Linked DNA regions of Homo sapiens: all the other regions are linked to region 1. Evidence: promoter capture Hi-C in 16 types of primary human blood cells and fetal thymus (Javierre and others, 2016). All regions are on one chromosome and are shown on one strand. The core of a region is centred on a gene start or on the middle of the fragment in contact, and the rest is flanking DNA. Distances in the headings are between cores, read along the strand shown. Region 1 holds the start of MUTYH (mutY DNA glycosylase). Region 2 overlaps RNF220 (ring finger protein 220). Region 3 overlaps ARMH1 (armadillo like helical domain containing 1). Region 4 overlaps ARMH1 (armadillo like helical domain containing 1). Region 5 overlaps KIF2C (kinesin family member 2C). Region 6 overlaps KIF2C (kinesin family member 2C).

Region 1 (4,751 bases), core at 967-3,466:
CCAGACATCCAGCCTAGGGTAGGAAGAAATAAAGTCACAGAAAGGGCAGACTCAAGGCTAGGGAGGCTAGAGGCCTACCTTGTCATTGCCCTTATGGTAGGGGATGCCTTGGGCATACTGCTGGTTGAAGTTGAAGCCATGCTGTATCAGGAACTGCACAGACTTTGGTTCTATGACATACTCCTCCATGCACAGCAGAGTGAGATTGAACACTTGAGCCAGATAGGAATGTTCACCCTGGGAGAAAGAGAAGTCTGCTATATCAAGATTTCAGAGAGCCAAGCTAGGAGGATGCAAAAGCTTAAGAATGATACAATGGACTCTGGGGACTCAGGGGGGAAAGGATGGAGGCAGGTGAGGGATAAAAGACTACGCATTGGGCACAGTGTACACTGGGTGATAGGTGCACCAAAATCTCAGAAATTGCCACTAAAGAACTTACTCATTTAACCAAACACCACCTGTTCCCCATAAACCTATTCAAATAAAAAAAAAAAAACTATCAAGTCAAAAAAAAAGATTTGGGAGAGAAATGCTTCCTATCTGATGTTCCCTAGAATCTCTCTACCCTCCACCCCACAGCCACACCTAGGATTGGGGTGAGATCAGCTCATACCTTGTCTGGCTGCCGCTTGAAGCAGGCGAGGCCCAGGGAAAGGATAGAACGGGTCCTGGCAGCATGACACACGGCCTTGTAACGTTCCTCAATGCACCTTGGGGTTGGGTATGGGGGTTGCTGTGGCTAGGAGTTAGCCTTATGAAGGACCCAAACCACCCAGGTCTGTGACCCCCCCACTCCACAGTTGAGGGCTGGCACTAAAGAGAAAAGGGCTTATACTTACTGGTTCAGCAAACTCTTCCTGTCCCCAAGCCCACTCAGCTCCTGTGGGTAGGTAAAGGGAGAGTTGTGACAGGCCTCTAGCACCAGCCCCTTCACAACCACCTGCCCTCCTTGTTTCCCAACTCTCACCGTGTCCACAGCCACGAAATTAGCTGTCTTTATGGCTAGCAGGAGGGATGGCCACATCTCCTTGAAGTTGTTGCTTTGCACATCCACTACGGGAACCTGGACTACTAGCTCCTCCCCAGATGTTGTGCTTTTGCTGACACCACCTGGGGGTTAGGAGGGTGATGGATGTTCATGCTTAAGGAAAGAGCCCAGGGGAACAGACACCAAGCTAGGCCACGGTGATGGTGGTAAGGGGGGTAGTTTCCATTGGTAGCTTTTCCCACAAGCCTTTGTAACCCACGTGTTCTACACACAGGCCTTGGAGTGGAGAATGCCCTGAATTTGGGGAGAGGAAGCCTGAGTCTTCTACTGGCTTGTATGAGCCTGGGTAAATTACTTCCCACCTCGCTTTCACAATCTGTAGAGGAGAAAGTTGGACTAGACGACCTTTGATTCTTTTTTCCCATGTCCTGCAGGAAACATTTTGTAGGGCTTGAGGATCTCAGCTCCCTTAATATCCCACAGGGATCCATACTACTGTTCTCATGGTGCCCCAGCGCCACAAGCAACAGCTCCCAGTAAGCCCCAGAGCCTGGCAGTGCCCCACACCAGAGCTCCCAATACGTCCTACCTTCCTTTGGATCACAACGCTCAATCCACTCCACTGAACTGAATCACAACTATTACTACTAACCGTTATGAGCTCCAGACTACATCTCCCGCCATGCCTCCATCAGCCCCATGCTCCCAACGCTCCAGGCTTTTGCAGCCGGAGCCGCGGTGTACAACGGAACTTGTAGTCTCCTCGTGGCTAGTTCAGGCGGAAGGAGCAGTCCTCTGAAGCTTGAGGAGCCTCTAGAACTATGAGCCCGAGGCCTTCCCCTCTCCCAGAGCGCAGAGGCTTTGAAGGCTACCTCTGGGAAGCCGCTCACCGTCGGAAGCTGCGGGAGCTGAAACTGCGCCATCGTCACTGTCGGCGGCCATGACACCGCTCGTCTCCCGCCTGAGTCGTCTGTGGGTACGCTGGACTTGCGGTCCGTCTCCTGGCGCGGTTCAGGCAGTCGGGGATGGGGCGGGGTCTCGCCGTCGGGTCGCCGATGGGTCGAACTTCCGTTCAGACGTCCCGGGTCCGGCGCGGGGAAGGCAGCCTGGCGCGCGCTAATTGCCTATTGGCCTGTGCTGCCGGCTCGCAGCCCGGGTGGACCCGAGCCACGCCCCCTGGAGTGCGCCGGAAAGCCGGGCGCGCTAGAGCTCGCGGGAGGTAATCTTTCTCTCCTGCTCTCGCGGCGGGAACGCGGGGCCTCCGTGTTCTGCTGTCTTCATCAGCGTGGGCCGCGGGTAGCGGGTAGTGGGGTGGCTGGGTTTGGGCTTTCCAGAGAAGGTGACGCTGCCTGAGCTGAGCTTAAAGCACGCCCAGGAGTTAGACTAGGAGAGGGTCGTGTGGGGGAAAGAAGGGCGTTCTGGGCATCGGTAAATTCCCAGAGAGGATGGAGAGCTCAGTGATCTCCAGAAAGTGAAAGAGGCGGGGAGTGGGCCATCGGAGGAGGCTGCCCAGGGTGTAAGAGCGACCGATTGGTAGGGAAGCTTTTGTAATAATCCAATCAAGTGATAATGTGAACTTGAATTAAGGCTGGCAGTATGGATGGCGAGGAAGGGACAAATTGTGAAGCAGCTAGGCGGTATAGTCGACCTAGAGGGTGATTGAATTTGAAAGAGGTTCCTAGGCCGGGCGCGGTGGCTCACGCCTGTAATCCCAGCACTTTGGGAGGCCGAGGCGGGCGGATTACCTGAGGTCCGGAGTTCAAAACCAGCCTGGCCAACATGGTGAAACCCCGTCTCTACTAAAAGTACAAAAAAAATTAGCTGGGTATGGTGCGGGCGCCTGTAATCCCACTACTTGGGAGGCTGAGGCAGGAGAATCGCTTGAACCTGGGAGGCAGAGGTTGCGGTGAGCCGAGATCACGCCATTTTGCACTTCAGCCTAGGCAACAAGAGCGAAACTCCGTCTCAAAAAAAAAAAAAAAAAAAAAATTCCTATTGGAGACTAGTCCCTCCGTAAACACTACGATTCCCATCCACCTCTGCCTTCCAGTGCTCCTTTGTTACTCATTGTTTATAGTTAATCTTCAGCTTCTCTCAACTGAGCCCATTTCATCATTATTCAGAACTGCTTGGGCCGGGCGCAGTGGCTTATGGCCTGTAATCATCTTAGGAGGCCAAGGTGGGAGGATCGCTTGACCCTAGGAGTTCAAGACTAGCCTGGGCAACATAGTGAAACCTTGTCTCTACAAAAAGAAAATTAAAAATTAGTTGGGCATGGTGGTGCGCACCTGTAGTCCCAGCTACAGGAGGCTGAGGTGAGAGGATGGCTTGAGCCCAGGAGGTCGAGGCTGCAGTGAGCCATGTTCTTATTGCACTCCAGCCTGAGTGGCAGAGCAGCAAAGTGAGGGACACACTGTCTCTAAAAACAAAACAAACAAACAAAAAAAAAACAAAAATAAAAAAACTCTTTGGATTTCTCCTATCCTAAAAAAGGGAAACTCTTTTGACTATCCCCCATCCCATTAATTCATTTAACAGGTATCTATTGTGTACAGTTTACCTGGCACTGACTTTGGACACACACCAATCAACAAGAGAATCAGTCCTTGCACTCAAGTCGTTTTTTACAGTCAAATTCAGGAAGTACACACTGATGGAAAGAATCAAAGTAATGTAAAATTACATTAGGTAAGAGCTACAAGGCAGAAATATGTGATAGGATAAGATGAGGGGACCTGATTTGGACATTTCAGTCAAGACTTGAAAAATGATAAGGTGTTAGGTAAAAGCATAAAAGAGTCCAAACAGAGGAAATGGATTGTGTGAGGCCCCAAGGTGGGCAGACACACTTGAGGTGTTTAAGCAACTAAATTCAGTCAACCTTGGCTAGAGCATAGTGAGGGGATGAGGCGGATGGTGCCCGGATCACTGGACCTGCAAGGCTGTAGTAAGAGGACTGCCTTCTAAGAGCAAGGGTGTGGCAGCCAAATCCCTCCAATGGCCTATAAGGTACTTTGTGACCCTCCTCTCCCCACCTCATCTGGTTTACTTCTCTGACCTCTTCTACCACTCAGTCCCATCTCATTCCATTCTAACCACATTGACCTACTTACTGTACCACAGACATACCAGGCACCCTCCTTGGGGCCTTTGCACTCACTTAGAATGCTTTGGGTCTACCTTGACCACAGTCTTTAAAATTGCAACATTAAACCCCACCTTGGCACTCTTTTTTTTCCCCTCTTGGTCTAATTTTTGCTTTTTATGCTAATATTTATCACCTAACATCTTATGGAATTTACTTATGTTCATTATTCCTTTTCTGTCCCCATTAGAATATAAGCTCCCTGAGGGCAGGAACTTTTGATGTTTTATTTACTGAAGTATGCCAAGTGCCTAAAACTGCTTGGCACATATTAGGGGGCTCTATAAATATTTGCTCAATCTTTTTTTTTCTTTAAGAGACAAGGTCTTGCTGAGCCCAGGGTGGAGTGCAGTGGCACAATCATAGCTCACTGCAGCCTCGACCTTCTGGGCTCAAGCTGTTCTTCACTTCAGCCTCCAGAGTAGCAGGATTACAGTGTTGAGCCACCACAACCAGCTTGCTCAAGAATTTAATGACCCATAGTAAAGGCCTACAGTATTTAAAAAAGAAAGAAAAAGGAAAAAAGGAAGGAAGGAAAGAGGGAGGGAGAAAAAAAGAGAAAAGAAAGAAAATAAAAGAATATAATGGGGTGTCACCAGGCGCCGTGGCTCATGC
Region 2 (4,751 bases), core at 867-3,366, 710 kb after region 1:
GGAATGCCTCCCTGGGGAAGAAGGTGCTGATGATACCACAATGTTCAATGACTAAGGAAACGAATCTCATGGAATGGTCAAGAAAGGCACAATACTGGATGCGCTCCTTGCTCAGGACACACAGGCCAGCAGATGATCCCTTGTTGTCCCTGGAAAGCACCCCAATGGACTGGGCTTCATCTGCAAATTCTCAGAGAAGGAAGGCAGGTTTGGTTTTCACCTTCCCATTCATCTTCTAAATCCTGAATTAAGCTTACCAAAGTGTGGTAGGGAAAGTTCTGTTCTCTATCCAGAGGCTACGTACGAGTAGGAAGAATCAAAGCATTTGCCAAGGAGGTAGCATGGCATGGTTGGAGAAACACGGGCTTTGGTGGGAAACAAACTTCAATTGAATCATGGCTCAGTTACATCCCAGCTGTGTACTTTTAAACAAACCACTTTCACCTCTCAGAGCCTGTTTTCTTATTCACAAAAGGTGTGTAATACTCTTCTCAGAGGCGTTGTGAGAATGGTGCTTAACATGGCGCCAGCCCATCATGAATTTCTCCCTTTTCCAGACTAGGGCTCAGCCTGGCAGCAGAAACCAAGTGATAAGAGCTGGGGATCTTGAACTCCATGGCCTCTCTCACTTACCAGCTGACCCAGAGACCCTAAACCCCTTACAGCCACCCCCCAGATACCACACCCCAGTAAGCACAAAAAGCTAGGATCATTCAATTGTATTCAGCAAACAGGAATGCTCCAGAGGTTTGAATCCAAAAGGGGGGCTGCTAGGTAGTGCATACACGGCCTGCTTTCAGAGAAGGCCTCTAAGAGCTGTCGAGCCCACGCTGATCACCTTTGTGAAATGTGGGCCGACTGATAACTCAAAGAGCCCTGGGATGAGTTAGTTCCTGTTGCCGTGGGAACTCCAGATCTCACTGTATTGTCAAGTCTCAGCAGAGGGGCTGTATTCACACTACTGGGCACTGATTAAAAACTGGAAGAAAAACATTCTCAGCGCCCTGCAGGTTTGTATAGTGAGGTCCCAGCAGTTTGCAAATTCAAAGCTGAGCTCCCGAGTAGAATTGTGTAGCTCGTTCCTCATTCTCCGGCACTTATTGCCCCCCCAGGGTTCTTCAGGGCCTTTAGAGAGGTTTGGGCAAGAGCTGGGCGCCATACCTCCATTAGACAGACGGGGAAACTGAGAGCGGCAGCTTTGGTTTGCACATACTCAGGCGCCGTGACTGCGAAGAAGCCAACGGGCCCCAGAGTCGAAGAGACCCAGGCAAGCCAGGAGCGGCAGGCAGTGAGGGAGGGAGGGAGGAGGCCGGGGGTGGGGCGGAGGGAGGGGCCGGGCAGGACTCACCATTCAGTCGGGTCTGCCGGTTGGCTCGTACTCGCAGAAAGGTCTGGGAGAAGATCGCGGGCAGATGCAAGAAAAGAAAAGAGAGCGTCAGGCGCGGCCTGCAGTCCTGGCCCCCGCCCCAGCACCGGACCCCCGACCAAAGCTGCTCCGCCCCAAACAGCCCGTAAACAAACCTACTTCCTCCCTCCCGCCGGCCCCTCTGCTCCTCCGGCCGCTCCGGGCTCTCGGCATAGCCGCCGGGCGCTGCTCTAACGGGACCCCGTGGCCGCTGCGCGGTGCCGCCCCAGCCCTGGCCTCCGGCGCTCTGGGCCCCACGGCCGCCCGGCCGGCGAGGGCGGCGATGCGGGCGGATTCCCCGTGGCTGCCCGGCGGCGGCGGCACTTCAGCTCCAAGCGGCGGCGGCGGCCATGTTGGCCCTAATCACGTGATCTGCCGCCGTCGCGCGCTGGGGGTGAAAGTTCACAATGCGGCGGGGGCGGCCGGACAGAGACCAGGAAGCTGCCGTTTGTACTCGGGTAGCAACCGGCAGAAGCCTCCCCGGGGTCCCTCCCACCGCCCGTGAAGCCTACCCACCCAATCTTTAGCGGCTGCGAAGTCCTTCCACCCCACTCCACGACCCCTCCCGCTGCGGGGCTCCTTCCGCCCCATCGCCCGGCCCCGGCTCCCGCCTCCTGTGCCTGCCTTTCTCGCGGCTGCCCTTAGGGCAGAGGCATCGCGTTGGGTGCTTTACAGGGGACAAGGCGTCCGAATTCCCTATCGCCTGTGGGCGATCCCCGCCCAACCCCTAGGCCATCCAGTTCTGTTATCAGAGGACTCCCAACATGTCAGCTGTCTGCTGCACGGCCCCTGGAGCTCCCATAGGCACTGCATACCCACACGGCCAACATGGCCAACATGGAACTCAGTATCCTCCAAACAGAGGCCTTCCTCTTGGGTTCCCTGTTCATAAGAGGAAGCCACTATCTACTCAGGTGTGCCCACAGAAGAAAGTTGAGAGTCGTCCTGGACCCCACTTTCTCCATCCCTCACACTCAATCCTTTTCTAGATCCTGAAAGTGTACATTGAAAGGTCGCTAATTTTCTCATCTCCACCTCTGTATCTCCTACTCATCCTTCCAGGTCTAACTGAAAAATAGCTTTGCCTTGTGTAAGAGTACATTCATCTCTGCGCCGTTATCATCGCTTGTGAAGTTTTTATCAGTGGACTGACCACTTCAGGGTTGGGGCCGTGTGTGAATTATTTGGGTGAACCCAGAGCCCAGCATGGCACTGGGCAAAGGCAAGTCAGCCCTGAGTTGTTCTTCCATGGTTGTACCTACCTTGGTTGTCGTTGTGCTCCAGTCATACATAATCTTACGAGCTCTCGAAATTTGCAGCTGTTCCCGTCTCATCTTTTGGTCTCTAGCTTCTCTCTCTGCAACCCATCCTCCACACTACACACAATGTGATCTTTCTATTGGACAAAATTAACCCTCTCCTTCTTTAAATCCTTCAGTGGTTCTCCATCAAGGCATATAGGCCTTCCCTGTCTGCCTTGCCAGACTCTTCTCTCACTCCTATTCTCTCCCTTTACATTCCTGACACTCAGCTTTGCAGAGCTAACTAGCTCTTTGAGCACTCCATGCTCTGCACTCCAGGCCAGAGAGCCTCCATGCCCTCCAGTATCCCTTGCTTGGTTAACTGTTGTTCATCCTTCAGGACTCTGGCAAGACTTAGTTTTGTCCCCCAAGCCTGGGTTTGATGCCTCCTCTGAGTTTTCAGTTCCACTGCTTCTCTTTGATCATGTATATTTTGATTGTTTGTTTACATATCTGTCCCTTGTACTTGGAAGGTCATCTCTAGCCATTTACCCAGCACAGCGTCTTGCATGAAGGAGACACCAGTGGGAACGGGAGAAAGACTTTATGAGATAAGCCCTGAGCCCAGTGATGGGTTGGGAAACAATCTCGGATTTAGGGCCAGACAGACTCAAGTTCAAGTCCTAATTCTGTTACTTACAATTTATGTGTTCTTAGAAGAGTCACCTCTTTCTAGGCCTGTTTCCTTGGTAATAGACTGGGCATGATGAATACAGTTGCTATGAGGTTTAAGTGAGGTAATGATAAAGAGGGTTAGTTAGTCAGCAGGGGCTAAGTAAATGAGAATTCAAACCAGAAACCAAGGCTCATGCCTTTAATCTTAGCACTTTGGAAAGCCAATGCAGGAGGATTGCTTGAGCCCAGGAGTTCAAGACCAGCCTGGGCAATATAGTGAGACCCTGTCTCTATGAAAAACAAAAACAAAACCCCAGAAACCAATACCCCCTGGTTTCAAGGCCTAGCTCAGTGACTTTAAAAATCCGACATAGCTGAACAACTACTACATGCCAGGCCTTGTGTAAAGAGCAAGGGATGGGATACCCAGCTAGTCTCTGGGTTGCTTTCCAGCTTCACCTACTAACTTTCCTTGCATTCTACTTTCTAACAAAAGCAAACTGCTAGCAGGTCCCCAGATACATCATTCTGTTACACCTCTATGTTCTCTACATAGTGTTGTCTTTATATCTGGAGTAACCTTTCTTCCTTGTCTGCCAAGTGAACTTCTGTTCCTTCTCTGAGTCCGTTTTCAGTCATTACCTCCTGTGTGAAGCTTACTCTGATTTTCTCCTCCTTCTACTGTAGTATCCTAGAAACGTATTCTTTATTATTAATTTTTTTTATTTTATATTTTTAGTAGAGACAGGGTTTTGCCATGTTGCCCAGGCTGGTCTTGAACTCCTGGCCTCAAGCAGTCCACTTGCGTTGGCCTCCCAAAGTGCTGAGATTACAGGCATGAGCCACTGTGCCTGGCCCCTAGAAACTTATTTATACTCCTGTCATAGCACTCAAGACACTGGACCATAATTGTCTATCTGCAAATCTAACCCCTTGAAGGCAAGGACACTAAGCTGAACATGAGTCAGTACTAAATAAATGTTTGAGTAAAGGAAGGATAAGACAAGGTCCTTGCCTTGGAGAAACTCCAAGTCTAGTGGAGTCAGATTCATTGTGAAAGATTAAATATGGCCAGAATTATTTGCATCTTCTCCTATCAAGAGCTGCCTTTCCTCATCACTCGATTATGGGCTAGCTTTGTGACTTGCTTTGCTTAATAGAAAGTGGTGGAAGTGATGTGTGAGTTCCAGATTCTAGGCCTCAACAGGCCTTGCGGCTTTGGCATTTACCCTCTTGGTGTGACACTGCCCTGAGACTGCTAAGTAAGAAAGCTGATTGAACATACTGGAGGATGAGAGGCCACATGGAAGAGAGCCAAGACACCCAATCTCCCAAACATGCGGTGAGGCCATTTTAGACTTTCCAGCCCAGCCAGTCCTCCAGGATGAATGAGCTGCATGAGTGAGGAAATGCCCAGTCAACCACAGCAT
Region 3 (4,751 bases), core at 846-3,345, 640 kb after region 1:
AAAGAAAAGGAAAAAGGGAGATGTGGGGGATGGCATCTCTTTTACATGCCTCACTTCATGGACTATATTAAAATTATTGAGGGTGCGGTGACTCATGCCTGTAATTCCAGTACTTTGGGAGGCCGAGGTGGGTGGATCGCTTGAGCTCATGAGTTTGAGACCAGCCATGGCTAACATGGCGAAACCCCGTCTCTACTAAAAATAACAAAAATTAGCCAGGCATGGTGGCGCATGCCTGTAATTCCAGCTACTTGGGAGGCTAAGGCATGAGAATTGCTTGAACCTAGGAGGCAGAGGTTGCAGTGAGCTGATATTGCGCCACCACACTCCAGCCTGGGCGATAGAGTGAGACTCCGTCTCAAAAAAGAAAAAAATAAAAACTATATTATTTACTTTTCTCACCAGACTCTAAACTGTCTGAGGACAGGGATTATATTGTATTCATTTTTGTATCCCTAGCACCTGGCATATACCTAGCACACAGTAGGTATTCAATAATTTTATTTCAAATTTATTTTATTTCCTTTTTTTTTTTTTTTTTTTTGAGACGGAGTCTTGCTCTGTAGCCCAGGCTAGAGTGCAGTGGCGCGATCTCGGCTCACTGCAATGTCCACCTCCCGGGTTCAAGCGATTCTCCCACCTCAGCCTCCCAAGTAGCTGCCATTACAGGTGCGTGCCACCATGCGTTTGAATTTTTTTTTGTATTTTCAGTAGAGACGGGGTTTCACCGTGTTAGCCAGGATGGTCTTGATCTCCTGACCTCGTGATCCGACTGCCTCTGCCTCCCAAAGTGCTGGGATTACAGGCGTGAGCCACCGCGCCTGGCCTAATTTTTGTATTTTTAGTAGAGAGGGGGTTTTGCCATGTTGGCCAGGCTGGTCTCAAATTCTGACCTCAGGTGATCCACTCGCCTTGGCCTCCCAAAGTGCTGGGATTACAGGTGTGAACCACTGCGTCTGGCCTTCAATTTTATTTCTTGAGTTATTCATAATTCAATTTCTTTTTTTTTTTTTTGAGATGGAGTTTCACTTTTGTTGCCCAGGCTGGAGTGCAATGGTGTGATCTCAACTCACCACAACCTCTGCCTCCTGTGTTCAAGCGATTCTCCTGCCTTAGCATCCCAAGTAGCTGGGATTACAGGCCCCGACCACTGCACCAGGCTAATTTTTTTGTATTTTTAGTAGAGACGGGGTTTCTCCATGTTGGTCAGGCTGGTCTCAAACTCCTGACCTCAGGTGATCTTCCTGCCTTGGCCTCCCAAAATGCTGGGATTACAGGTGTGAGCCACCGCGCCCGGCCTCATAACTCAATTTCACAAAAGATATTGGGCCACAGCTCAACAAATCTTTGAATGGATGCCTGAAAGAGGATATATTTAAAAAGGAGAAGTATTTCTAAAACCACTACTGAAAAATGTGAGCAAATGATGAATCAGGAGAATCATAAATCTGGGTCTTCCAGTGGTGACATGGACAGGAGCACAAAAAGCTTCCTGTTCAACCAGTTTCATGATGTGTTTTTCCTATAGCAGTGGTGGGTTCTGCCACCATGTCATTCAGGCCCCTAGGGAGACACATCTTGTCACACACAGTACCCACCATAGCTTTCACAAATGAGTTCCTTGTATGTCCTGCCAGAGTTCGCAATAACCTGAAGTAGTTTGACAGATTCCTTCTTGGCCTCCTCCTTGATCTTCTCTAGCCCAAGTATTTCCAAGAGGGTTAGGACACCTCCAACCTCAAGAAATTCTATAAGGTACCGATTACTGTCCAGAGGGATAGAAAAGTAGAAATAAAACTCTTGTCAAGTTCCTTTGCACTGAGCTTTCAAAGAGATCCCAAGGTCCCCTCTTTACATACTTTGCCCTCCTATCCAGGAAATGTCCATAGGTAAAGTGATACGAGTGTGGAAATTCTTCCTTCCAGCAGGAAAGACTGGAATTACATACTAGGGACAGTTCTTGGTTTTGCCATTCCAGCATCTCTTCTTCTTCTTGTAATACCACCTCAACTGTCACTTGGGGAATCACCCCTCTGCCACTCATGGGCCATGTAGTTTTGGTGGGGTGAGGAGGTGACAGGGTATGTCACCCTTCTGACTGCAGAAGTTCGTTTGGGGCTGGGCATGGGACCTAAATTGGTCCAATGAGGCTCAAAGCCTGGGACTTTCTTGGGAAGCTGTGGAAAGGATCTGCTCTGTTTTTGGTATGTCTAGAGCTCCTGAGGACCATGGCATACAGAGGTCTATGAACACAGAGGAGAAGAGACAGAAATGGGGGAAAAGACAGAGAAGGAGGCCAAGTACTGATGACATTGTTTGAGCCCTGGATCTAGTTAGGGCTGAAATATGTATTTCTACCCTCTGGGTTTTTCCAGTTAAGTGAGCCACTAATTTTCCTTTTTCTGAGTCCAATATGAGTTGGTTTTCTGTAATTCACAACCGAGAGGGTGCTGACTAGTGAAGCGCCACTGGAGAGAAAGGGATGGGGGAGCAACTAGAGCAGGAGCCCGGTGGACATTACCTCTGGGCCCATCCCAAGAGCTACAAGGAACCCACTGCTAACAGGAATCCGTGGCCCTGGGTGGTGTGAATGCCAAAGACATCATGAGCCTGAGATGCCACTGAGACCCCCAGAATCACGCTAGAACAGAACTCACCTGCTTACAGCTGATAAGAAGATGCCAATGGACCTGAGAAGCTTTTCTAAACATGAGTCAGTCATATAGCTGTATGACACGTTAAAGAGTGAGTTTCAGGGTGGTTTTTCACACAGAAGCCAGAGCCCGTGCCTGATCTCTGGTACCACCCCGGGCCCAGGGTGGCCAAGTAGCTGAACTGTGCCTCTTTACCCTGAGAGGAGCTACCAGCGGAAGGGGAAGTGGCAGTACACACAGGGTTGGGGGAAGAGGGTGCTGGCTGTTCACTGTTCTCCAGGAAGCTCCTCTGTGGCAGTTCAGCCACCTTGGCTCTTACAGGCTTTCTAGGGAACAAGGAGGCTCTGATGAATTAAGGGTCCCTGGAGAAGGCTGGGGGTCAATATCCCAAAGCTCTCTAAGCCATGCCCATTGCATCCTTGGTGTCAGCATAGTTCATGACTTTGTGCCTCATTCTTAGATTTCCCTAAAAAGAACCAGCTTCATCATTAATTCTCAATTTTTGTACTTGTTCAAAGTTTTACACTGGAGGTCACTATCCTTATGAAGAATTGGCTTCCTAATAAGAATAATAGGAGATGGTGGAAAAATTAAACTCTGATTTAAAACAACCTCAGTATTTAATGTTATTTTTTAATGTGAGTCTTTGCAAAAAGCCTCATTATAATAAAGTACCCAAAGCACGCATCAGCTCAGATACAAGGTATGAAATCAAGCCACAACAGAAAAGGAACCAGTCAACAATTACTAGGCTCATAACACATCAGAGGCTCTTAGAACACTTAAGAAATTAGCTGAAATTACTGCAGCTCATGGAGGATGACTGAGAGCTTCCAAGGCTGATAAAGGCTAATGTAATGGTTTGGAGGTAATGGTGCTTTGTTTGGGCGGGGGGTGTGTGAAGCAAATTATCTCTGCTGCACCCTGGTTCCCAGGATGCCAATAGAAGTAGAGACAGATTGGCTCATTAGGAAAGGCTCTTTACTGCAAAAATAGTGTTGGCTCTGGAGCCAGGCTCCCCTGCCTCTTGCTGCCATAGTTGGGGCCAGGCAGCAGCCCACACGGTGGTCTTTTTATTCCTACATTGTCCCCACCCTGCTCCCTCAACTTCTGCCCCTGTTCCTTCCTCAGTGCATTCTCCCCTTTTTCTTCAGGCTAGGCTGGCCAACTTTTGTTTCTGTCACCTTCTGTTTCCTCTGTCCTGGGCTAGTCTTTTTTTTTTTTTTTTTGAGATAGGGTCTCACTCTGTTGCCCAGGCTGGGGCACAGTGGTGCAATCACAGCTCACTGTAGGCTTGAACTCCTGGGCTCAAGCAATCCTCCTGTCTCAGTCACCTGAGTAGCCGGGACTACAGGCACGTGCCACCATACCCAGCTATTTTTTTTCTGTATTTTTTGTAGAGACAGGGGTCTCGCTATGTTGCCCAGACTAGTTTCGGACTTGTAAATTCAAGCAGTCCTCCTGCTTCAGCCTTCCAAAGTGTTGGGATTACAGAGGTGAGCCACCATGCCAGCTTTATTTTTTGTTTGTTTTTTTCTTCCTTTTTGTGGAGAATGGAGTTTTGCTATGTTGCCCAGGCTGGTTTTGAACTTCTAGGCTCAAGCGATCCTCCTGCCTCTGCCTCCCTTTAAGTATTGAGATACTGGCGTGAGCCACCACACCCAGCTAGTCTTGTTTTCATAGTCACTCACTATACATATTTCTGGTCTATTATTTCCAGGAATTAGTTCCAGAACACATGGTTTGAGTCCTGGATCTAGAGAACAGGGGATGAAGGAGCAATGTTGGGGCCACAAGATCAGCAGTTGCTAACAAGTACCAGCTCCTATTGTGTGCGGGGCACTGTGCTAACTGCTTTGCTTGCATTGTCTCAAATAATCCTCACCATGGCCCTCCAGTGGGTGCTATTAGCATTTCCATTTACTTCCTGAGTAACATGAGGTAACAATCTCAGGTCAATAACTTGTCCAAGGTCCCACAGTGAACTGCTGGAACCGGGATTTGAACCTAGGCAGTCTGACTAGGATTCTAACTCTTACTGTTAGGCCTTCTGGCTTGTAGACAAATGGAGGGAGGGCGCTTTGCAGATGAACTCCC
Region 4 (4,751 bases), core at 741-3,240, 610 kb after region 1:
TGCCCTCTTGTGGCATCCTGGAGAATTACTGCCATCTGACTTCATTTCCTCCGACTTGGAGGGACTATTCCCTCACAATACCTCAGTCACTGATTCATGCATGCCAGGTATTGTCCTAACAGTATCCCTGTCCTCGTGGAGTTTACAGTCAGATGGAGGACATACTATTAATAAACATAATAAGGTAATGCTATGGAAAAAAATAGCAGAGTAAGGTGGGAGGGGAGGTGGTGAGTATAGAGAATGGTAGTGTGCATTGCAATTTTAAAAAGAGTAGGCCTTCTTGTAGAGTTGAAGGGAGATGGGGGAGTGAGCCCTGTGGATATATGGGATGAAGTTCTAGGCAGAGTGAACAGTCAGTACAATAGCGTTGAGACAAGAGCTTGTTTGCCAATTTCTTTTTTTCTTTTTCTTTTTTTGAGACGGCGTCTTGCTCTGTCGCCCAGGCTGGATGGAGTGCAGTGGCGCGATCTCGGCTCACTGCAAGCTCCGCCTCCCGGGTTCACGCCATTCTCCTACCTCAGCCTCCTGAGTAGCTGGGACTACAGGTGCCCGCCACCACGCCCGGCTAAGTTTTTGTATTTTTAGTAGAGATGGGGTTTCACTGTGTTAGCCAGGATGGTCTCCATCTCTTGACCTCGTGATCTGCCCACCTTGGCCTCCCAAAGTTCTGGGATTACAGGCGTGAGCTACCGCGCCCGGCCTCTTTGCCAATTAAAAAAAAAAAAAAAAAAAAAAGAACCAGCAAGGGAGTCCAGTGTGTCTGGAGCAGAGTGAAGGACAGACAGAGGCAGAAGAGTTTAGAGAGGTGATGGGAAACCTGAGCACCTAGGGTCTTCATTCAGCGAAATGGGGAGCCCTCCAAGGTTTGAGCCCAGTGATAGAATCTGAAGCTTAAAAGGATAACCCTGGCTGTCGTATTAAAAAGAGAACAGGTATTGACTGGGCACAGTGGTTCACGCCTGTGATCCCAGTACTTTGGGAGGCTGAAGTGAGTGGATAATTTGAGGTCAGGAGTTTGAGACCAGCTTGGCCAACATGGTGAACTCCTGTTTCTACTAAAAATACAAAAATTGGCTAGGCGTGGTGGCAGAAGCCTGTAATCCTAGCTACTCGGGAGGCTGAGGCAGGAGAATTGCTTGAGCCCAGGAGGTGGTGGGTGCCAGTGAGCCTAGATCACACCACTGCACTCCAGCCTGGGTGACAGAGTGACATTTCATCTCAAAAAAAAAGAAACTAAAAGAAAAGAGAACAGGAAGAGGGAGAAAAGCAGAATAACGTTGAAGAGAGATGATAGTGGCTCAGCCCAGAGTATTAACAATAGAGGTAGTGAGATATGGTTGGATTCTGGATGTATTTGGAAGATAGAGCCAACAGACATAATAGATATGGGTGCTAAAGACGGACATTAAAAAGCACTCCACTATTTTGTTTTGTTTTATAGGAAGGATGAGTTGCCATGAGTTGAATTGGGGAAAGTGGCACGGGATTAGGAGTTCAGTTTTAGACACGATGAGGTGGAAATGTTTAGCTGGAAATAGAAATGTAGGAGTCATTGGCCTATAATGATATTTAAAGTTCTGAGACAGGATGAAATCAGCAGGGTGTAAAAGCAGATAGAAGAGAGACTCCAGACCAGGAGCCCTGCCTCACTCCAACTTGAATGAGACTGGATTGAAGAGGAGAAATCTTCAAAAGAAAAAACAACACCATGCACACTCAGGCCAGGCACAGTGGCTCATGCCTACAATCCCAGCACTTTGGGAGGCCAAGGCAGGAGGATCACTTGAGCCCAGGAGTTGGAGACCAGCCTGGACAACATAGTGAGACCTCATCTCTACAAAAAAAGAAAAAAATATTAGCTGAATGTGGTCGTGGTGCACATCTGTAGTCCCAGCTACTCCGGAGGCTGAGGCATGAGAATTGCTTGAGCCTGGGAAGCAGAGGTTGCAGTGAGTCGAGATTGCACCCCTGCACTCCAGCCTGAGCAACAGAGACCCTGTCTAAAAAAAAAAAAAAAAAAAAAAGCTGGGTGTGGTGGCTCACGCCTGTAATCCCAGCACTTTGGGAGGCTGAGGCGGGCAGATCATGAGGTCAGGAGTTCGAGACCAGCCTGGCTAAGATGGTGAAACCCCATCTCTACTAAAAATACAAAAGTTAGCTGGGTTTGGTAGTGCATGCCTGTAGCCCCAGCTACTCAGGAGGCTGAGGTTGCAGTGAGCCGAGATTGTGCCACTGCATTCCAGCCTGGTGACACAGCGAGACTCCGTCTCAAAAAAAAAAAAAAAAAAAAAAAAAGACTATGCACACTCCAGCCCCTCCTGGAAGAACCTACCTTTTTCCAGAAATCCTCAACCCAGTCTCCACCTACCTGCCCTAAGTTCCCTTGAGACTCCCTTTTTACCAGGCCCCTCCCCCTGGGAGAAGGTGCTTTGAGCATGAGCTCCCCTTCCTCCATTCCTATGATGTAAGGTTTTCTTCTTGGTCACTTTGCAAGCTGGGGACCTCTGGCCAGCAATGCCCTGCCAGGTCTCACTCGCCAGGCTACCTGCTGCAGGAGATGGCCTTTACTTGCTGCAGGAGACGACCCACCCGCTCAGTCCAGTTGGCGGAGTCTAGCTTATGCACTGGTTCCCGAGTTCTCGTCCCACGAGCCCAAGAAGAATGAGGATGCACTGGCAATTGAAGAGTGAGCAAGGTGGGGTTTTACTGAGTGATAAAACAGCTTTCGGTGGCTGTGGGGGGTGGTCCCCCTACCTGAAAGTGGGAAAGTCCCCCTAATATGGCTGAGTCCAGGGCTTCTATGGGCTCAGAATGGGGGAAGGGCAGGCCATAGGTAGTATTGGAAAAGGCAACATTCAATTGGTTAAAAGGCATTATTCAGAAAGAATCAATCAGGAAAGGGCAGGCAAACAGAAACAGAAGTTCTCACTCTGGGTTGTGGGTTTCATCCAGGACCAGCAGTCGGTCTTTCAGCCTTCAGGCTGTTTTTGGTTTGAAGGTGGGGTTCACTGGGGACCCACCCCTATCTGCCTAGGCATTTGGCTGCCTCCTGTTGCTATCTCCTAGATCAATGAATAAAGCTTCTGCTCTGCTTTATGGAACCTGGCCTTGTTCTATTGGTGCAAATGGTTCCAGGCAAGGAAAGGACCCATTAGGATCAAACGACCCCCTTTAATGTCTGTAACAACCGGAGAAAAACCAGGTAGGTAGGGTGTTCTGGAGGAAAGGGTGCATAGGCCATCAGGGAGTGGAGGTGAGGCCCTCTATTCAGGCTATGCCCTTGAACCTTCTAGGGTGTTGGTGGCCCTTCCCTCTGGATCTGCTTTTTTTTTTTTTTTTTTTTTTTGAGAATGAGTCTCACTCTGTCGCCCAGGAGGCTGGAGTGCAGTAGTGTGATCTTGGCTCACTGCAGCCTCTACCTCCCGGGTTGAAGTGATTCTCCTGCCTCAGCCTCCCAAGTAGCTGGGATTACAAGTGTGTGCCACCACACCCGGCTAATTTTTTATTTTTTATTTATTTTTTAGTAGAGACGGAGTTTGACCCTGTTGGCCAGGCTGGTCTCGAACTCCTGACCTCAGGCGATCCGCCCACCTCAGCCTCCCAAACTGCCAGGATTACAGGCGTGAGCCACCGTGCCCGGCCTGTTTTTGTGATGGGGTCTTGCTTTGTTGTCCATGATGGCTTCCAACTCTTGGGCTCAAGAGATCTTCTTCCTTCAGCCTGCAGAGTAGCTAGGATTACAGGTGCAAGCCACCGTCCTAAACTTGGACCTGCTTTTTAACTTGAGGAGCACAGGCACCACAATCTAGCATCATAGCTCTCACTTGACCTCCCTTCCCCCTCCACACACACAAAGAACAGACAGGTATCAAGGCTGTTTATTGACTCTTCGCAGCCAGCGGCTCTTCCTCTGCCCCTCTGGGATGCCTAATCCCCGTCTCCCCCCTGGAGCCAAGTGGAGTGGCTCTGAGCTTGACCCCAGGCGCCTTCCTCTTGCCAGGCTTCCCTGCCCCGCAGCCTTGGCCTTCCTGGTTTGCCACAGGGGCTGTTACTCCTTTGATTCTACATCCTCCTCGAAGTGTGTGAGGTAGGCCATCTGAGCCGAATCGCGCGAGCCATAGAGAGTGTTCATGCTGTAGGAGCTGCCATGGAGGCACAGGGCTGCAGGCAGGAAAGGCGGGCGTGAGGCTGTGCTGGCGGCGCCTGCGCCCGGCTTCCCTCGTCCCACACTCACCTTTGGTAACATTGACTGTGTTGGCCGCCAAGATGTCCGCCTGAATGCTGTCTATTTTCATGTACAAGTCCTCAGCGTTGCTCTGAGGACAGGAGCAAGGGGGACCCGGCTGGGGTGCCAGGGCAGTCTGGACTTGGAGTTGGGCTTGGCAGAGGGATGTTGCAGGTGGGGGGCGGGTCGGCAGCCTGACCGAAAGGGCAGGAAAGGGAACAGGAAGGTGGCGGGTGGAGGAGCCTACGCCAGAGCAGTCCCTCCTGCAGCTGGTGGCCAGGTCCACTCTGCATGTGGCGCGCTCCAGGATGGGGACTGTCTGAAGGGGCATCACACTGTCCGAGCCGCCATCTGCTCATTGCGGCGGGGCAGGAAGGGCGCACTTACCAGGAAGAGCTGGTAGAGTTCCTCCCCCATGCACTTGCGCACGTGCTCCGCCACCAAGGGGAACATCTGCACGAAGCACTGCGCCGCGCGGGCGAGGCGGCGTGACTGCGGGGGCGACGGGGCTGCGGGTGCCGCC
Region 5 (4,751 bases), core at 1,408-3,907, 590 kb after region 1:
CCTCAACTATCTCAGAGGGCTTCTGCCTAGTCTTTCACCTCTTCCAAAAGACTGATTCCATGGCCACAGGAAAACATGCCCCCATGTGACAAACAGGGCTTGAACTCAGGCGATTTGAAGTACTGGTAATGCTCTGATCATGTTAGTTACATAAGTGTGTTCAGTTTACAAAAATTCACAGAACTAAATACTCAATGCTATGTGTTCATGTCTGTGTTTATGTGTGTGTAATGTTTCAATTAAGTTTTTTTAAAAAAGAGATGATTTCCAAATAAGAAAGCCGTGTTGGTAGGGCAGGAGCAGACCAGTTCTGAAGCTGGGGGAATGGATGAATCTCAGGATATTCTAGCACAGGGACCAAGCAATGTGCTCCAGGGCCTCAAACATGGTGGTTGGGGGCACATTCGTTACTCACGAGGAACTGAAAACTGCTTGCGGGAGTTTGCAGCTGCAGGCAGCTCCACCTCCATGTCATTCTCCTGAGCCGTGATGCGAAGCTCTGAGACAGTGGACATGCGAGTGGAGCGGCTTCGAAGACCTGGAGAACCGAGAGCAGTAGCCAGTCAGTGCTGCACGATCTCGAGGGTGGTCAGGGGCAAACCTCCAAGTTTCTGTACAAGGTGAAATAGGTCCCAGCTACCAGGAAAGGGGCTCGCCAACTTCCCATATTCCTTAGAAAGGAAAAATTAGAAAGACCAAGTACCAGTAACCCCAAAACCTCTTTGTCCACATTGTGCAAATCTAGGAGCTCCTGAGGGCAAGGATATCTCCCACAAAGAGCGGCTGTCTTGAGTAAGTACAGGAACCTATAGCTATCCTGAAAACATTTCTGGAGAGAGAGAGACCTAATCTAAGTCCTTGAGAAAAAGTATTATGAATCTTTTTTTTTTTTTTTTTTTTGAGGAGTTTCGCTCTTGTTGCCCAGGCTGGTGTGCAGTGGCGCGATCTCGGCTCACTGCAACCTCCACCTCCTGGGTTCAAGCAATTCTCCTGCCTCAGCCTCCCAAGTAGCTGGAACTACAGGTGTGCACCACCAGACCCAGCTAATTTTTGTATTTTTTTTTTAGTACAGACGGGGTTTCACCATGTTGGCCAGCATGGTCTCAATCTCTTGACCTTGTGATCCACCCGCCTCGGCCTCCCAAAGTGCTGGGATTACAGGTGTGAACCACCGTGCCCAGCCCATCTTTTTTGAGAGACAGAGTCTCACACTGCCACCCAGGCTGGAGTGCAGTGGCATGATCTTGGCTCACTGCAACCTCTGCCAAAACCAACTTCTACCCAGTTTCTGAGTATTATAAGTTCAGGCTGATGGCTATATATAATCCATGTTTTGAATTTTTACAATCGTCCTATTTCCCTAATGATTTTATTTTATTTTTTATTTTTATAATAAGACTGAGTCTTGCTATATTGCCCAGGCTGGTCTCAAACTCCTAGGTTCAAGCCATCTTCCTGCCTCAACATCCCAAAGCACTGGGCTTACAGGTGTGAGCCATCACATCTAGCCCCAAATGATCTGTAATTTTTTTTCTTTGTTTTTTTGAGACCGAGTCTCACTCTGTCACCCAGGCTGGAGTACAGTGGCATGATCTCGGCTCACTGCAACCTCTGCCCCCCCGGGCTCAAACGATTCTCCTGCCTCAGCTTCCTGAGTAGCTGGGATTACAGGCACCCACCACCACGCCTGGCTAATTTTTGTATTTTTAGTAGAGACAGGGGTTTCACCATGTTGGCCAGGCTAGTCTTGAACTCCTGACCTCAGGTGATCCACCCGCCTTGGCCTCCTAAAATGCTGGGATTACAGGTGTGAGCCACCACACCCGGCCAGTTTTTTGTATTTTGAATAGAGACAGGGTTTCACCATGTTGACCAGGCTGGCTTGGAACTCCTGACCTCAGGTGATCTGCCCACCTTGGCCCCTCAAAGTGCTGGGATTACAGGCATGAGCTACTGCTCAGGGCCTTAAAGATTTTTTTTTCCATTAAAATGAGCTGTGTAGCTGGGCATGGTGGTGTGTGCCTGTAGTCCCAGCACTTTGGGAGGCTGAGGCAGGAGGACTGCTTGAAGCTAGGAGTTCAAGACCAGCTTAGGCAACAAAGCGAGACTCCATCCTAAAGAAAAAAAGCTATTGGCTGGGCATGGTGGCTCGCGCCTGCAATCCTAGCACTTTAGGAGGCTGAAGCAGGAGGATCACTTGAGGCCAGGAGTTTGAGACCAGCCCAGGCAACATAGTGAGACCTTGTCTCTACAAAAAAAAAAAAAAAAAAAATTAGCCAGGTGTGATGGGGCACACCTGTAGTCCCAGCTACATGGGAGGCTGAGGTGGGAGGATTGCCTGAGCCCAAGAGTTCAAGGCTACAGTGAGCTACGATCATATCATGGTATTCCAGCATGGACAACCAAGTGAGACCCTGCCTTTGAAAAACAAAACAAAACAAAGCTGGGGCAATATCCTTTGAGGACATGAACACGGAATGGGACTGCTGCGAGTCCCAACTCTCCTGCATGACCTTACGGTACACCCAGCAAGAAAGGGCCAGCACCACAATAGTCAGGCCCAAGCTTGCAATGGCACCACCTTCCACTCAGGGCCCCCAGAACCTGAAGCTCCAGCCAAGTATTCTGTGAGTCCCTGAGGTAGCTGAATCATTTCAGGGCAATGATGACCCCTAGACCTGGAGAGCTGTGCAGGTCACCAGCCTTCAAGGTACAACTGGCTTTAAGCTGGATCTTTTGGGAAGCTTACCCCCTAGAGTCACAGTCTATCATGTTGTCAAAGTAGGTTTTCACAGACTACTTCTGCAGAGAGACTCCCAACCTCCTAGACCACGAGGCAATGCTGTTATTCTCTCCAGCCCCAGCCATCCCTCTCTATAGCGCCACCAACTGTACTTCTAAACAACCCACAGGCCTAGTGTCTCCCATTTTCAAAATCTCTTTCCAAGGCATACTGTTCCACTGAGGGGGCTGAGCCCCGAGGGAAGAAAAAAGGCCTACCAATGGCTGATTCCTACTCTCCTCAGCATCAGGCTCTGGATTCTACAGAAAAGGTTTCTAGGCCAGGCAGCAAATTTCCTAAATGCACCAGGTCTCTTAAAGGTTGGCCTGATAGCTGTAGATTGGATTCTTTCTCATAGAGAAAGATGCTTGGAACACAGGCAGGACTCAACCCACATAGAAACCACCTGCAAAAGAGGAGCTTCCACAACTCTGAGTCCTAGAAACATAATTCCTGACACAAATTCCATGATAGTAAGCTAGTAGAAATCCACTTACTTTCTTTTGGAGCAGGAATTTTGGAGTTGACGGATCTCCGTTTTTGTTTCTGAAAAACAAATCAAATTGTCACAATATATGGCTCTTATCAATTCTCAAGGGCCCATCCTGGGCCCATGTACTATGCTAAAATGCCAGACAATCAATCAGCAAAGAGTCAATAAGCAAAGTGAATTCTCTGGCGCACTGGCTGCAGCCAGATGACAGGCACCTACCTGGATTGTTACATTTTCCTGCAAGGGCAGATTGTCCTTCGGATGTAAGGGAAGAAGCTGTAAGAGTTCTGGGTTTATTGCAGCCACATCATCAAAATCAATCTGCAAGGAGCAAGTAAAAGTTTCAATGAAACAACATTGTTCAATCCAAATACATTTTTTCTTTTTTTTTTTTTTTGAGACAGAGTATCGCTCTGTCGCCCAGGCTGGAGGGCAGTGGTGCGATCTTGGTTCAATGCAACCTCTGCCTCCTGGGTCCAAGCAATTCTCCTGCCTCAGCCTCCTGAGTAGCTGGGACTACAGGCATGCGCCACCACGCCCAGCTAATTTTTGTATTTCCAGTAGAGACAGGGTTTCACCATGTTGGCCAGGATGGTCTCAAACTCCTGGCCTCAGGTGATCTCCCCACCTCGGCCTCCTAAAGTGCTGGGATTACAGGTGTGAGCCACTGTGCCTGGCCCCCCCGAGGCTGAGGCGGGAGAATTGCTGGAATCCAGGAGGCGGAGGTTGCATTGAGCTGAGATTGAGCCACTGCCCTCCAGCCTGGGCAACAGAGCAAGACTCTGTCTCAAAAAACAAAAAACAAACAAACAAACAAAAAAACAACATAGAAAAAATTAAATTTCTATAGACAGGGGTACCCCTAAATTCAAACTTTACCAACTTTAAGTTCCACTAAGTATGAATAGCTATAAAACAAATAGTTACTCCTTAATAATGGTTTACCATCTAGATGGATATGGGTTTCTGATTTCCAAGCCAATGGTAGACGTCAGTGATGAGAATGAGGTGAAGAGGAGGGCAGACAGGCAGGCAAACAGTCGGGTACTCCACAGCAGATCTAGGCCACTTGGCTCCCCTGCTGATCTGCTGGGCAGTGAGGTCCTGCTGGGCACAGCCCCCCAAGCACCTCTTGATGGCTGACACGGAGGAGGAAACAAGTTCTAACTGTCTGGTGAGAGTCAAATGGGGGCCCTTTAGGATCTTATGGGCAGGGGCAAGTTCCTGACAGCTGCTACCTAACCCTAAGACTACCTACATTTTCTTCTGGGCCCAGAAACTTCCCCAGTTACGGCTTCCTGCCCATGCCTTACCTATTTCCTGTTGATGCCTGCAATGAGGTCACAATTCTAAGTTTACATCATCAGAGTCCTGCAATTCTCCAGGAACAACTCAAACTTCACCAGGATAGCTTTACAACAGGTTCAGACATATTAAATTTGTCCCAACTTTGTATTTCAAAATGTGACAGAGCTG
Region 6 (4,751 bases), core at 1,419-3,918, 570 kb after region 1:
GGAGGCTGAGGCGGGCAGATCACGAGGTCAGGAGATCAAGACCATCCTGGCTAACACGGTGAAACCCCATCTCTACTAAAAATACAAAAAATTAGCCAGGCGTGGTGGCGGACACCTGTAGTCCCAGCTACTCGGGAGGCTGAGGCAGGAGAATGGCGTGAACCCAGGAGGCGGAGCTTGCAGTGAGCCAAGATAGCGCCACTGCACTCCAGCCTGGGCGACAGAGAGAGACTCCGTCTCAAAAAAAAAAAAAAAACAAACCAAAAATTAGCTGGGTGTGGTGGTGCGCACCTTAGTCCCAGCTACTTGGGAGGCAGGAGAATCGCTTGAACCCGGGAGGCGGAGGTTGCAGTGAGCCAAGACCACGCCGTCACACTCCAGCCTGGCGACAGAGCGAGACTCCATCTCAAAAAAAAAAATATGTAGGAGCCAGGCATGGTGGTATGTGCCTGTAGTCCTAGCTGCCCGGGAGGTTGAGGCTGTAGGATTGCTTGAGCCTGCAATTCAGGGTCACAGTGAGCTATGATCATGCCACTGCACTCCAGCCTGGGCAACAGAGCAAGACCCTGTCTCAAAAAAAAAAAAAAAAGAAAAGAAAAAAGAAAATAATTGACCTAAGCAGCCTCTCCAGCTGCCTATTAAAAAAAAAAAAAAAGAAAGAAAAAAATACAAGAAAAAACATAGGTCCAAGGCTTTAGGAATATCTACATTTCGGCTGGGTGCGGTGGCTCACGACTGTAATCTCAGCACTTTGGGAGGCCAAAATGGGCAGATCACCTGCGGTCAGGAGTTTGAGACCAGTCTGACTAACACGGCAAAACCCCGTCTCTACTAAAAATAACAAAATTAACCAGGCGTGGTGGCACACGCCTGTAATCCCAGCAACTCAGGAGGCTGAGGCAGGAGAATCGCTTGAACCCAGGAGGCAGAGGTTGCAGTGAGCTGAGATCGCACCATTGCACTCCAGCCTGGGCAACAAGAGCGAAACTCCATACCCACCCCGCAAAAAAACAAAGGAATGTTGTCATTTCAAGGCCAGATAGAGAAAGATAGCTGGCAAAGGACACAGAAAGAGAAATTAGAGTGACTAGAGGAAAGCCAACACAGGGTGCTGCCGTAGCTTAATGCTGCTGTGAATGCTAGTTAAAATGAGACTAAAAAGTGATTATTAGGCCAGTGCGGTGGCTCACGCCTGTAATCCAGCACTTGGGGATGCCAAGGGGGTGGATCACCTGAGGTTAGAAGTTCGAGACCAGCCTGGCCAACATGGCGAAACCCCATCTCTACTAAAAATACAAAAATTACCTGGGTGCAGTGGTGGACACCTATAGTCCCAGCTACTCTGGAGGCTGAGGCAGGAGAATCGCTTGAACCTGGGGGGCAGAGGTTGCAGTGAGCCGAGATCACTCCACTGCACTCTAGCCTGGACGACAGGAGCAAAACTCCGTCTCAAAGAAAAAAAAAAAGGTGATTATTGGATTTAGTAACCCGAAAGTCCTTGGTGATATTGGCGAGAGCAGTTTCTGTACAGTACAGTGGGAAAAAACTTGAAATAGAATGGGAAGTTAAAAAATCCAATGTATGTAGACAATTATTTTGAGAGGTATGACTTTAAAGGGGAAAGAGAGAATTAGGTTGTTGGCTGGAAAGGAATGTAGAGCAGAAGGGTAGTGTTTTCTTTTTTTTTTTTTGAGACGGAGTCTCACTCTGTTGCCCAGGCTGCAGTGGTGCGATCTTGCCTCACTGCAAGCTCTGCCTCCCGGGTTCATGCCGTTCTCCTGCCTCAGCCTCCTGAGTAGCTGGGACTACAGGTGCCCAAAACCACGCCTGGCTAATTTTTTGTATTTTTAGTAGAGATGGGGTTTCACCGTGTTAGCCAAGATGGTCTCGATCTCCTGACCTCATGATCAGCCTGCCTCGGCCTCCCAAAGTGCTGGGATTTCAGGCTTGAGCCACCACGCCCGGCCTTTTTTTTTTTTTAATTTTAGACACAGGGTCTCATTATACTGCTCAGGCCACAGTTCTGAGTCTGCTTTCTAAAGCAGCAACACTCTCTCATCTTTCTCTACCCACTTACTACCTATCATTTGTTTACATGCACATTATCTGTCTTCTCCACTGAAATACTATGTGCATAAGGGTAGAAACTTAGTCTTATTCACTGCCATATTTCTAACACCTATACATAGAATAATGCTTGCTATTTAATAAGTACTCAATAATTTTATTTTTTTTGGAGACAGAATCTTGCTCTGTCGCCCAGGCTGGAGTGCAGTGGCACAATCTCAGCTCACTGCAAGCTCTGCCTCCCGGGTTCACACCACTCTCCTGCCTCAGTCTCCTGAGTAGCTGGGACTACAGGCGCCTGCCACCACTCCTGGCTAATTTTTTTTTTTTTTTTTTTGTATTTTTAGTAGAGACGGGGTTTTACCATGTTAGCCAGGATGGTCTTGATCTCCTGACCTTGTGATCTGCCCGCCTCGGCCTCCCAAAGTGCTGGGATTACAGGTGTGACCAACCGTGCCCAGCCTTTTTCTTTTTTTTTTTTTGATACAGGGACTGGTTCTGTTGCCCAGGCTGGAGTGCAATGGCGCAATCTCGGCTCATTGTAACCTCTGCCTCCCAGGCATAAGCCATCCTCCCACCTTACCCTACCAAGGAACTGGGACCACAGGCACATGCCACCACGCCTGGCTCCTTTTTGTATTTTCTGTAGAGATTGGGTCTTTTTTTTTTTTTTTTTTTTGAGACAGAGCCTTGCTCTGTTGCCCAGGCTGGAGTGCAGTGGTGCGACCTCAGCTCACTGCAGCCTCTGCCTCCTGGGTTCAAGCGGTTCTTCTGCCTCAGCCTCCCGAGTAGCTGGGATTATAAGCATGCGCCACCACGCCCAGCTCATTTTTGTAGAGACAGGGTTTCACCAGGTTGGCCAGGCTGGTCTCCAATCTGGCCTCGTTTTCCGCCCATCTTGGCCTCCCAAAGTGCTGGGATTATAGGTGTGAGCCACAGCACTCAGCTCATTTTTGTAGAGACAGGGTTTCACCAGGTTGGCCAGGCTGGTCTCCAACTCTGGCCTTGTTTTCTGCCCATCTTGGCCTCCCAAAGTGCTGGGGTTATAGGCATGAGCCACAGCACCCAGCTGAGACTGAGTCTCATTTTGTTGCCCAGGATGGTCTTGAACTCCTGAGCTCAAGCCATCTGCCCGCCTCGGCCTCACTCAATAAATATTTAAATGGCACTAAATATTCGAGCAAATTATTGTTCTACTCACCACATTGTATTTGCTTGGTTTTCCCAGGTTTAATGTACCATATTAATGGAGTAAAGGAGTAAAGGAAGAAACAAATGGAGTAAAGGAAGAAACAAAACCACCTGATCACTTCAAAACACAGAAAAAGCATTTGACAAAATCCAATACCCTTTGGCGATTAAAAGACTCAAACTAGAAATAAAAGTGAACTGCTGGCATAGTGCAGTGGCTCATGCCTGTAATCCCAGCACTTTGGGAGGCCGAGGTAGGAGGATTGCTTGAGGCCAGGAGTCTCTGTGACTGAGGGCTTCCCACACATTTGCTTGTATGGTTCCTAGGTTAAACCTTTTAGTGGCACCTCATTACCATTCAGATAATCCATGCTCAATGACATGGAATATAGAGTTCTCCAGTTCCTAAACTGTTCATGCCCTATGACTGGGCCCTCAGTCCACTGGACAGACTTTTTTTCAAGACCAAATTGGTGTTTCCCTTTGGATCCTTCCCTGTCCAGCAAGTTAAGTGCTTTCATCAGCCTTTGTGTGAATGGTAATGAGGTATCACTAAAAGGTTTTAAGCAAATGTGTGTTCAGGGAGCCCTCAGTCAGGGGGACTCCTGGCCTCAACCCCACAGAATCTTTTAACAGGCCCTGGGCTGACTGTAATAGGGTGCCATCTTCTTTTTTTTTTAACACGGAGTTTCGCTCTTGTTGCCTAGGCTGGAGTGCAATGGCGCGATCTTCGCTCACCGCAACCTCCGCCTCCTAGGATTACAGGCATGCGCCACCACGGCCGGCTAATTTTTTGGATTTTTAGTAGAGACGGGGTTTCACCATGTTGGTCTCCAATTCCTGACCTCAGGTGATCCACCTGCCTCGGCCTCCCAAAGTGCTGGGATTACAGGTGTTAGCCACTACACCTGGCCTTTTTTTTTGAGACAGCCTTACTCTGTCTCCCAGGCTGGAGTGCTGTGGCACAGTCTCGGCTCACTGCCGCCTCCGCCTCCCGGGTTCAAGCAATTCTCCTGCCTCAGCCTCCTGAGTAGCTAGAACTATAGGTGCGTGCCACCATGTACCATGCCCAGCTAATTTTTGTATTTTTAGTAGAGATGGGGTTTCACCATGTTGGCCAGGCTGGTCTTGAATTCCTGACCTTGCGATCTGCCCGCCTTGGCCTTCCAAAGTGCTGGGATTATAGGCGTGGGCCACCGTGCCCGGCGGCCATCTTCCTTCTACTTAAGAGTTTCTGTTCCCAGGCCTAGTAAGCATCTCATAGACATCAAACAAGTCACAGGAGTCTTCAGCTTGTCATTGGAATTGTAGGTGTGGATATGGCCTCCTGGAAGGAGTACAGAATCAGTACTACCCAGAGGCCAAAGGTACAGTCATGTCCTTAGTCCCAAAAGGCTCAGACACATCCCAGGCCCTTTCCACACACTTAAACAGCTGATTTATTTTTTCTCTTTATTGTTACATACAATGTATAAACACATAAAACAGAAAAC

The links. The method cuts DNA at HindIII sites, captures the fragments that hold promoters and counts their contacts. A CHiCAGO score of 5 or more calls a contact.
Region 2: a fragment that was not itself captured here is called in contact with the fragment with the promoter of MUTYH in region 1 in 1 of 17 cell types (naive CD4 T cells); the score reaches 5.8 in naive CD4 T cells.
Region 3: a fragment that was not itself captured here is called in contact with the fragment with the promoter of MUTYH in region 1 in 1 of 17 cell types (total CD4 T cells); the score reaches 5.2 in total CD4 T cells.
Region 4: a contact is called between a fragment that was not itself captured here and the fragment with the promoter of MUTYH in region 1, in 2 of 17 cell types (fetal thymus and naive CD8 T cells). The highest score is 5.5, in fetal thymus.
Region 5: a fragment that was not itself captured here is called in contact with the fragment with the promoter of MUTYH in region 1 in 1 of 17 cell types (naive CD4 T cells); the score reaches 6.0 in naive CD4 T cells.
Region 6: a fragment that was not itself captured here is called in contact with the fragment with the promoter of MUTYH in region 1 in 1 of 17 cell types (naive CD8 T cells); the score reaches 5.0 in naive CD8 T cells.

Annotation. Positions count from the first base shown.
Region 1 is chr1:45,337,435-45,342,185 of GRCh38, reverse strand. MUTYH (mutY DNA glycosylase) reads left to right here and starts at 2,216. Exons shown (of 16, transcript NM_001048174.2): 1 at 2,216-2,287. TOE1 (target of EGR1, exonuclease) reads right to left here and starts at 2,016. Exons shown (of 8, transcript NM_025077.4): 1 at 1,882-2,016; 2 at 971-1,113; 3 at 843-883; 4 at 617-713; 5 at 79-237. The coding sequence starts at 1,933. RefSeq lists enhancers at 691-1,357, 1,656-2,005, 1,358-2,026, 2,027-2,694. The HindIII fragment of the contact is 741 bases long and covers 1,795-2,535 here.
Region 2 is chr1:44,628,983-44,633,733 of GRCh38, reverse strand. RNF220 (ring finger protein 220) reads right to left here. Exons shown (of 15, transcript NM_018150.4): 6 at 1,349-1,391. Among named protein-coding and RNA genes, the nearest start is that of SNORD145, 40 kb to the left of the region's middle. RefSeq lists enhancers at 421-968, 1,038-1,127, 1,738-1,827, 1,518-2,065, 2,158-2,257 and a silencer at 1,398-1,707. The HindIII fragment of the contact is 3,724 bases long and covers 255-3,978 here.
Region 3 is chr1:44,695,077-44,699,827 of GRCh38, reverse strand. ARMH1 (armadillo like helical domain containing 1) reads right to left here. Exons shown (of 12, transcript NM_001145636.2): 3 at 2,658-2,726; 4 at 1,599-1,765. The region is part of intron 4 of LOC105378690 (a long non-coding RNA gene); the gene reads left to right. Among named protein-coding and RNA genes, the nearest start is that of ARMH1, 23 kb to the right of the region's middle. The HindIII fragment of the contact is 1,210 bases long and covers 1,491-2,700 here.
Region 4 is chr1:44,724,704-44,729,454 of GRCh38, reverse strand. ARMH1 (armadillo like helical domain containing 1) reads right to left here. Exons shown (of 12, transcript NM_001145636.2): 10 at 4,616-4,693; 11 at 4,238-4,319; 12 at 3,864-4,164. The coding sequence ends at 4,052. It also overlaps a transcript of LOC105378690 not described here. Among named protein-coding and RNA genes, the nearest start is that of RNU5D-1, 4.1 kb to the left of the region's middle. RefSeq lists a silencer at 66-115. The HindIII fragment of the contact is 2,190 bases long and covers 896-3,085 here.
Region 5 is chr1:44,746,229-44,750,979 of GRCh38, reverse strand. It overlaps KIF2C (kinesin family member 2C), which reads right to left. Exons shown (of 21, transcript NM_006845.4): 3 at 3,495-3,596; 4 at 3,280-3,328; 5 at 416-538. Among named protein-coding and RNA genes, the nearest start is that of KIF2C, 8.8 kb to the right of the region's middle. The HindIII fragment of the contact is 179 bases long and covers 2,568-2,746 here.
Region 6 is chr1:44,767,690-44,772,440 of GRCh38, reverse strand. It overlaps KIF2C (kinesin family member 2C), which reads right to left. Exons shown (of 21, transcript NM_006845.4): 21 at 4,674-4,751. Among named protein-coding and RNA genes, the nearest start is that of RPS8, 5.5 kb to the left of the region's middle. The HindIII fragment of the contact is 6,266 bases long and covers 1-4,751 here.